2 separate regions of the Homo sapiens genome follow, and region 2 is linked to region 1. The links are contacts of gene promoters, found by promoter capture Hi-C in blood cells and fetal thymus (Javierre and others, 2016). All regions are on one chromosome and are shown on one strand. Each heading gives the region's core, a stretch centred on a gene start or on the middle of the fragment in contact. The rest is flanking DNA. Distances are from core to core; before and after follow the strand shown.

What was found. Contacts are between HindIII fragments. The CHiCAGO score rates a contact against its expected background, and 5 or more counts as called.
Region 2: a contact is called between a fragment that was not itself captured here and the fragment with the promoter of SLC36A4 in region 1, in 2 of 17 cell types (M0 macrophages and M1 macrophages). The highest score is 7.2, in M0 macrophages.

Annotation. Positions count from the first base shown.
Region 1 is chr11:93,196,537-93,199,321 of GRCh38, reverse strand. SLC36A4 (solute carrier family 36 member 4) reads left to right here and starts at 1,331. Exons shown (of 11, transcript NM_152313.4): 1 at 1,331-1,544. The coding sequence starts at 1,490. RefSeq lists a silencer at 1,190-1,569. The HindIII fragment of the contact is 1,801 bases long and covers 714-2,514 here.
Region 2 is chr11:92,940,249-92,943,033 of GRCh38, reverse strand. No RefSeq gene overlaps it. Among named protein-coding and RNA genes, the nearest start is that of LINC02746, 26 kb to the right of the region's middle. The HindIII fragment of the contact is 1,323 bases long and covers 691-2,013 here.

The DNA of each region.
Region 1 (2,785 bases), core at 82-2,581:
TATGGAAAATTACCTTGGTCCTATAATTTCTGTCTGATGCCTATCTTCTCTCCTGCTGATCTTTAACCAGGTGATCCACCCCAACACAGGTTAGGGAACATTGCTCTAGCTATGTTCCAGAATAGATTTCTTCTTCTTCTTCTTTTTTAAAAAAAATCTCCTTTACCCCTTTATTTGTCAGGAACACTTCAAATAAAACCTTCTTTTGGGATTTGCATGTGTATGTATGTGAACAAATTGGGTTCACTTAAAGGAAAAGAAAGGGGGTTGGCAAACTGTCATTATCACTAGTTATCTAGTGAAAGCCTACAGAGGATGCAACAGGAGGAAAGATGTAGATAGTATGTAACTGCGTACCTTTTTAATCTCAGAATTTTAAATATTTAACACCATTGCCATATAGTTACATCAGTGACTGTTAATCAGACCCACTCCCCCCCAAAAAAACCCTTTCCTAAAGCAACCCCACTGAATGAAACGGACACAAATAAAAAGGATTGTCTGGTGTACTGACTTCCAAGAACTATGAAGTGAAAAAAAAAAGAAAGCGATTTTAAAATTAAAATAAATATTTTCCTTTTAAACCAAAAGCTTGCTTCATCCATTGATTCATCGAATATTCATTGGTACCCATCTGGGAGGCCAGCTTTGCATATTTTTCGAGAGCTCCAGCTCTGAAGGCAGAAGGATTCTACTTCTGCCATGTACAAGCTTCCTGTCCCCAGACACGTTACTTACCTCCGTGCCTTAATCCCTTCATCTTTAGCGTTAATGTAAATATTAGAATTATCTCACAAATTGTAGTCAGAATTAAAGATAATGTATGTATGGTGCTTAGGAGTACTTGAAACTACATCAGTACACTTAGTCTTTACCTTAATTTTCTTTCAGCACCACGGTCAACGTCAAATATCTGGAAGGACATTGAAATATCCTGAAAGTGAAATTGTATATGACTTAATTAAATTCTATTTAAGTGTCTCCTGTAACTCTAACTATAGAAACAGGGAGACGAATAACCAGAGTAGTCAGAACCTCAGCATGGGTAGGGGACAAATCCCGTCCTTCTTCGCATTCTCCAAGGTGACTTACAGAACGCTAACGCCTTGCATACGGACAGGCGCCCCAAATTTAAGTTCGCCGTCATCTTTAAAACCCCCAGGGAGCTATGGGCCCGGGTCTCGGCTAGCTCTAAGGTCCCACCCTCGCTGATCTCAGGTTACCCAACCCTCCTCTCGGGTTACCCAACCCGGCCTCGCAGCAGTCCTCGGGTCTTCGGCCCCTCCCGCCCCTCGCCGGCGGTGCCCGCCGAGCCGGGCTGTCCCACTGCGCATGCTCCTCGCCGCGCGGTTGGGGAGCGCCGGGGCAGGGAGGCGGGCACCAGGCGCGGGTCCCTCCGGGCAGGGGAGGTAGGCCTGGGCCTGACGCCGGCCACGCAGCGGCGGGAGAGTGAGCACTCGGGCGGCGGCGTCCTGGAGACCCGCGAGAGATGGAAGCGGCGGCGACGCCGGCGGCTGCCGGGGCGGCGAGGCGCGAGGAGCTAGGTCGGTGTTGTGCGTGGGCAGGGAGCCGGGGCTGACGTGGGCGGGGGTCTGTGCGGGAGTCGGGTGCGCCCACACCTCCAGGGGCCCCGCGCTTGGCCTGAGTTGAGGCCCGATTGCTAACTGACCCCGTGGTCAGCATCCGCAAAGGAACCGGTTATCTGACCCCGAGAACTTGGTCAGACGAAGCCCAGGCCTGAATAGGGCGTTAAAATATGTGTGTGTGTGTTTGCGCGCGCGCGTGTGGGTGAGTGTGTGTGTTGAGTGGGGCGGGGCCCTGTGGGTACACGTCAAAGACGCAAGAGCCTGCGCCGTGACTCACGGTTTTTTTCCCAATGATGCTTTAAGGAAGTTATCATTGTTCTGCTTTTCAAATGCTGCAGCCCCATTCGGAATCTCCAGATGAATCCTCATTTTACTCCTTGTTATCCCAGAGTTTCGAACAGGTCGTGCTGACCAGAATGAACAGGAGATACCTGTAGCTTGCTCACTTGGCAAAGTTTGTTTGTTTTTTGCTGCTTTCCTCCCATCTTGTTTCTTGGCGACAGGGCGTGTTTGTTTACGGTTTCCCGCTGTCCAAAATAAAAAAGTAAGGATCAGGGTGGTAAAATGATCGCTCTCCCAGTTATACGTACTGTACTTGGGAGTATTTTTCATTCGATGCTGATTAAATGTAATTAAAAAATTAAATCTAAATGGAATCTTCAAGAAAACCGTTGAACTTTAAAAAATACCGTATTATAAGTAACTGATAGGTTGTTGTTATTCCTCTAATAGCCTGCAGGGCACTTTGCAATGGAATTGTTTTCAGGCCGTAATAATGGTAGAAACAATAAACTTAACATTTTATTGCGTGCTTACTGTGTGCAAACACTGTGCTAAGTGCTTTACCTATGCATTGTCTTTAATCCTCACAGCAACTGAGATAGGTGCTATCATGATTTCCATTTTATAGATACAGTAATTTTAAGCTTATTAATGGCAGAACCCAAATGTGAACTCAGGTTTCATTCATTAATAACCTGTCTTAGTGAGGATATGGAGAAATGGGTATTCTCATGCATTGCTGGCAGGAAAGGGATAATATATTTAGCCTTAAAAATGTACATATCGGCCTGGCGCGGTGGCTCACGCCTGTAATCCCAGCACTTTGGGAGGCTGAGGCGGCCGGATCATCACAAGGTCAGGAGATGGAGACCATCCTGGCTAACACGGTGAAACCCCGTCTCTACTAAAAACACAAA
Region 2 (2,785 bases), core at 103-2,602, 260 kb after region 1:
CTGAAGACAGAAGTGACAGCCTTTTTGCAAGCTGGTAAGTAAGATACCATCACTATTGAAGTAGTCTCTATTGGGCGGCAGTCACTAGGTCCAGCCCATACCTCCCGGCGGAGGGATCACGCAAAGGCATGAACACCAGAGGGCAGGAGTCATTGGGGCCATCTGCCACATTTACCTTCTTACTACGCACACCTTCCATTCTTTCCTTCCTTACCTCTTCCCTTCCTTCCTCATTCTCTCTTCTTCCTTCCAGGGCTTACTGTAAGTCTACAGTGGCCCGGGAGCTACACCAGGCATTGGGAATGCAAAGCTTATGAACACTGAGGTTTGCAGCCCAGTGGAGAAGAAAGGTCCAGTAAAATAACGTTTTCCAAGCTTCAGCCACTCGCTGTTTTGGCCATGTACATGGGCTTCTTAAATCTTTTCTAACTCAATGTTTTTCTTTAAAGTGATGGACCTTTAAAATATGGCCTCATCCTAAACTCATGGTTTTTGACTTTGACTGCCTGATGGCGTCACCTTGGGAGACTATTTAACCTGGAGATGTAGGGGATGTGGTTGACACCGGGCATCCCGTTCTCCCACCCCACACTTGCTTTACCATGTACTTATGCCCACCACAGTTGGGAGGTGACAGCTTACCTGGGGAGGAGATCCGTTCTTTTGCTCTTTGGAAACAGACTCCAAGCTTTGCCCCGTATTATTCCTCTGTTCTACCCTTCACAATATCCCCTGCCCTTACCCCTTTTCTGAATATTCATCAACCAAAGGGCAGTGCATCAGTGAAGGACAAATCTTCACAAAAAAGATACTTCCCGTTTGTTTTATTAAAAAGAAACGGAGCATTATTGTGGGCACTTGCGACTCCCAGTGGTAGAGAAGGGAAAATACATTCAGTGATGTCGGGGTAGGAGAGAAGGGAAGGAAGCATCTTTCACCAGCTCTCCGGAGCCTTTGCTTACACTACAAATGCAAAACAATGTCTCTAGGGGGCTAAAACAACACACACAAATAAGAAAACACTTCCACCTCTCATCCCTTATCCTCCGCAGTTTTATTCACATCTAAGTCAGGTAGCAATAGTCACCTCCACCAGTACAAACACAGCCAGAAGCTATAAGTGTCATGTTGTTCCCTCATCTTGCCCTTGGCCTCTTGGAGCTTAAGGACTGTTAATGACCACAATCCACTGAGACCACCCCTACTCCTGCCTGCCGAACACCCTCAGTGCTGTTTAAAAGCTCAATCCATGAGCAGCCACCTATGCCAGGCTCTGGGCTAGCATTGAGTGGAGTGGAGCAAAGGTGAGCCAGCTGCCCACTCTGTTCAGGTCATCTGTCTGGATGTCCCCTCCTTTGTATTTACTGATTCTGCCAGGCAAGAAGTTGAGGAGATTTATTCATTTCATTTAACAAATAGTAACTCACTGTCTACTGTATGTCCTGCATTGTTTCAGGCAATGAACAAAAAAGGCCTTGCTCTCAGGGAACTTACATTCCCAGCTACTGAACCTCATGTTCTTGTCTTTACTTAACCCCTGGGTCCCAAAACCTGCCCAAATGGAAAGAAATCTTAGTGATTCTCCAACTCCTGTCCCCTGTAAGTGAGGTTACTGAAGCCCACTGAGGTAATGTGCCCGGCCTGAGGTCACAGAAGAAGACACAACAGACTCTAGACTAGATCCCAGCGTCCCAGCTAGAGATAAATGTCAAGACACTCACAGCTGTGGGCACAAAGCTGTCTGTCTGGAAGCATTTTGGGAAAGTTAGAAACCTAGTGAGCGAACATATTTTAATACATCAATTTCATCAACTGGCGAATGAATCAGGTAAAGAGAAGTAATTATATCTTTTGGTTAAAAAGCAAAGTACTCTCAGGGACTCACAGACTTCTTATGAGACTGTCTTTTCTGCCTCCCTGAGTTCAGGCAGGATTCATCTAGAAGCATCCTCTGTGGGTGAGGGGAGCAGAGGCACATGGCACAGCGAGAGGCTGCCCAGTGTAGCAGAAGCTTCTCCAACATCCGCCCAAGTACCCCTCCTGACCAAAGGGGCTAATCCATATCTCAGGGACCTGAGGAGATAGTCCTATGCTGCAGGAGGAAAAGCAGAATTGAAGTCTCATATTTTACTATAAAAACCAATATGAGTGTTGCATTCTGAGGCACTAATATATCACTATGCTTAACATAAAAATGATATTTTTACCCAAATATCTGAATAAAATAAATTCTGTAGAAGGATACACCACCTTTATGCAGAACACCTTATCCATTACCCCTGGGCCTAAGAGCCTCCATTTTGAGAAGCACAGACCTGGTTCCAAACCCAACTCTGTCTGTGGAATGCTAGCAAATTAACTTACTGCCCTGGAACTCAATTTTCTTATCTGTAAAAGCAACACAAAGTTGTGAGCTCTAGAGAGAGTAAGGACCACTGAGAATGGTAATACCATTGTCAATACAGAGTTTTACAAGTTACCAAGCATTTTCCATGTGTTACCTTATTTTCATAGGAAGAGAGCAGATCTGGAAGCCAGTTAATCTTGGCTTTGCCAGAGTGGCTCTGTTGGTCTTGGGCAAATGGAGTAACTTTTGTGAGCTTCCACAGCCTTATTCATGAAAGAGGTGTCATAATGACGCTGTGGGTTATTGTGATAACTAAACACACATAAGGTGTGCAGGCTTCAGTAAGTGGCACATCTCACTAGTGCCTGGAGCAGCTGCTGTGAGTGGGTGAGAACACCAACCCAAGTCAGACAGGCTTGACTCTCACTAACTGGGTGT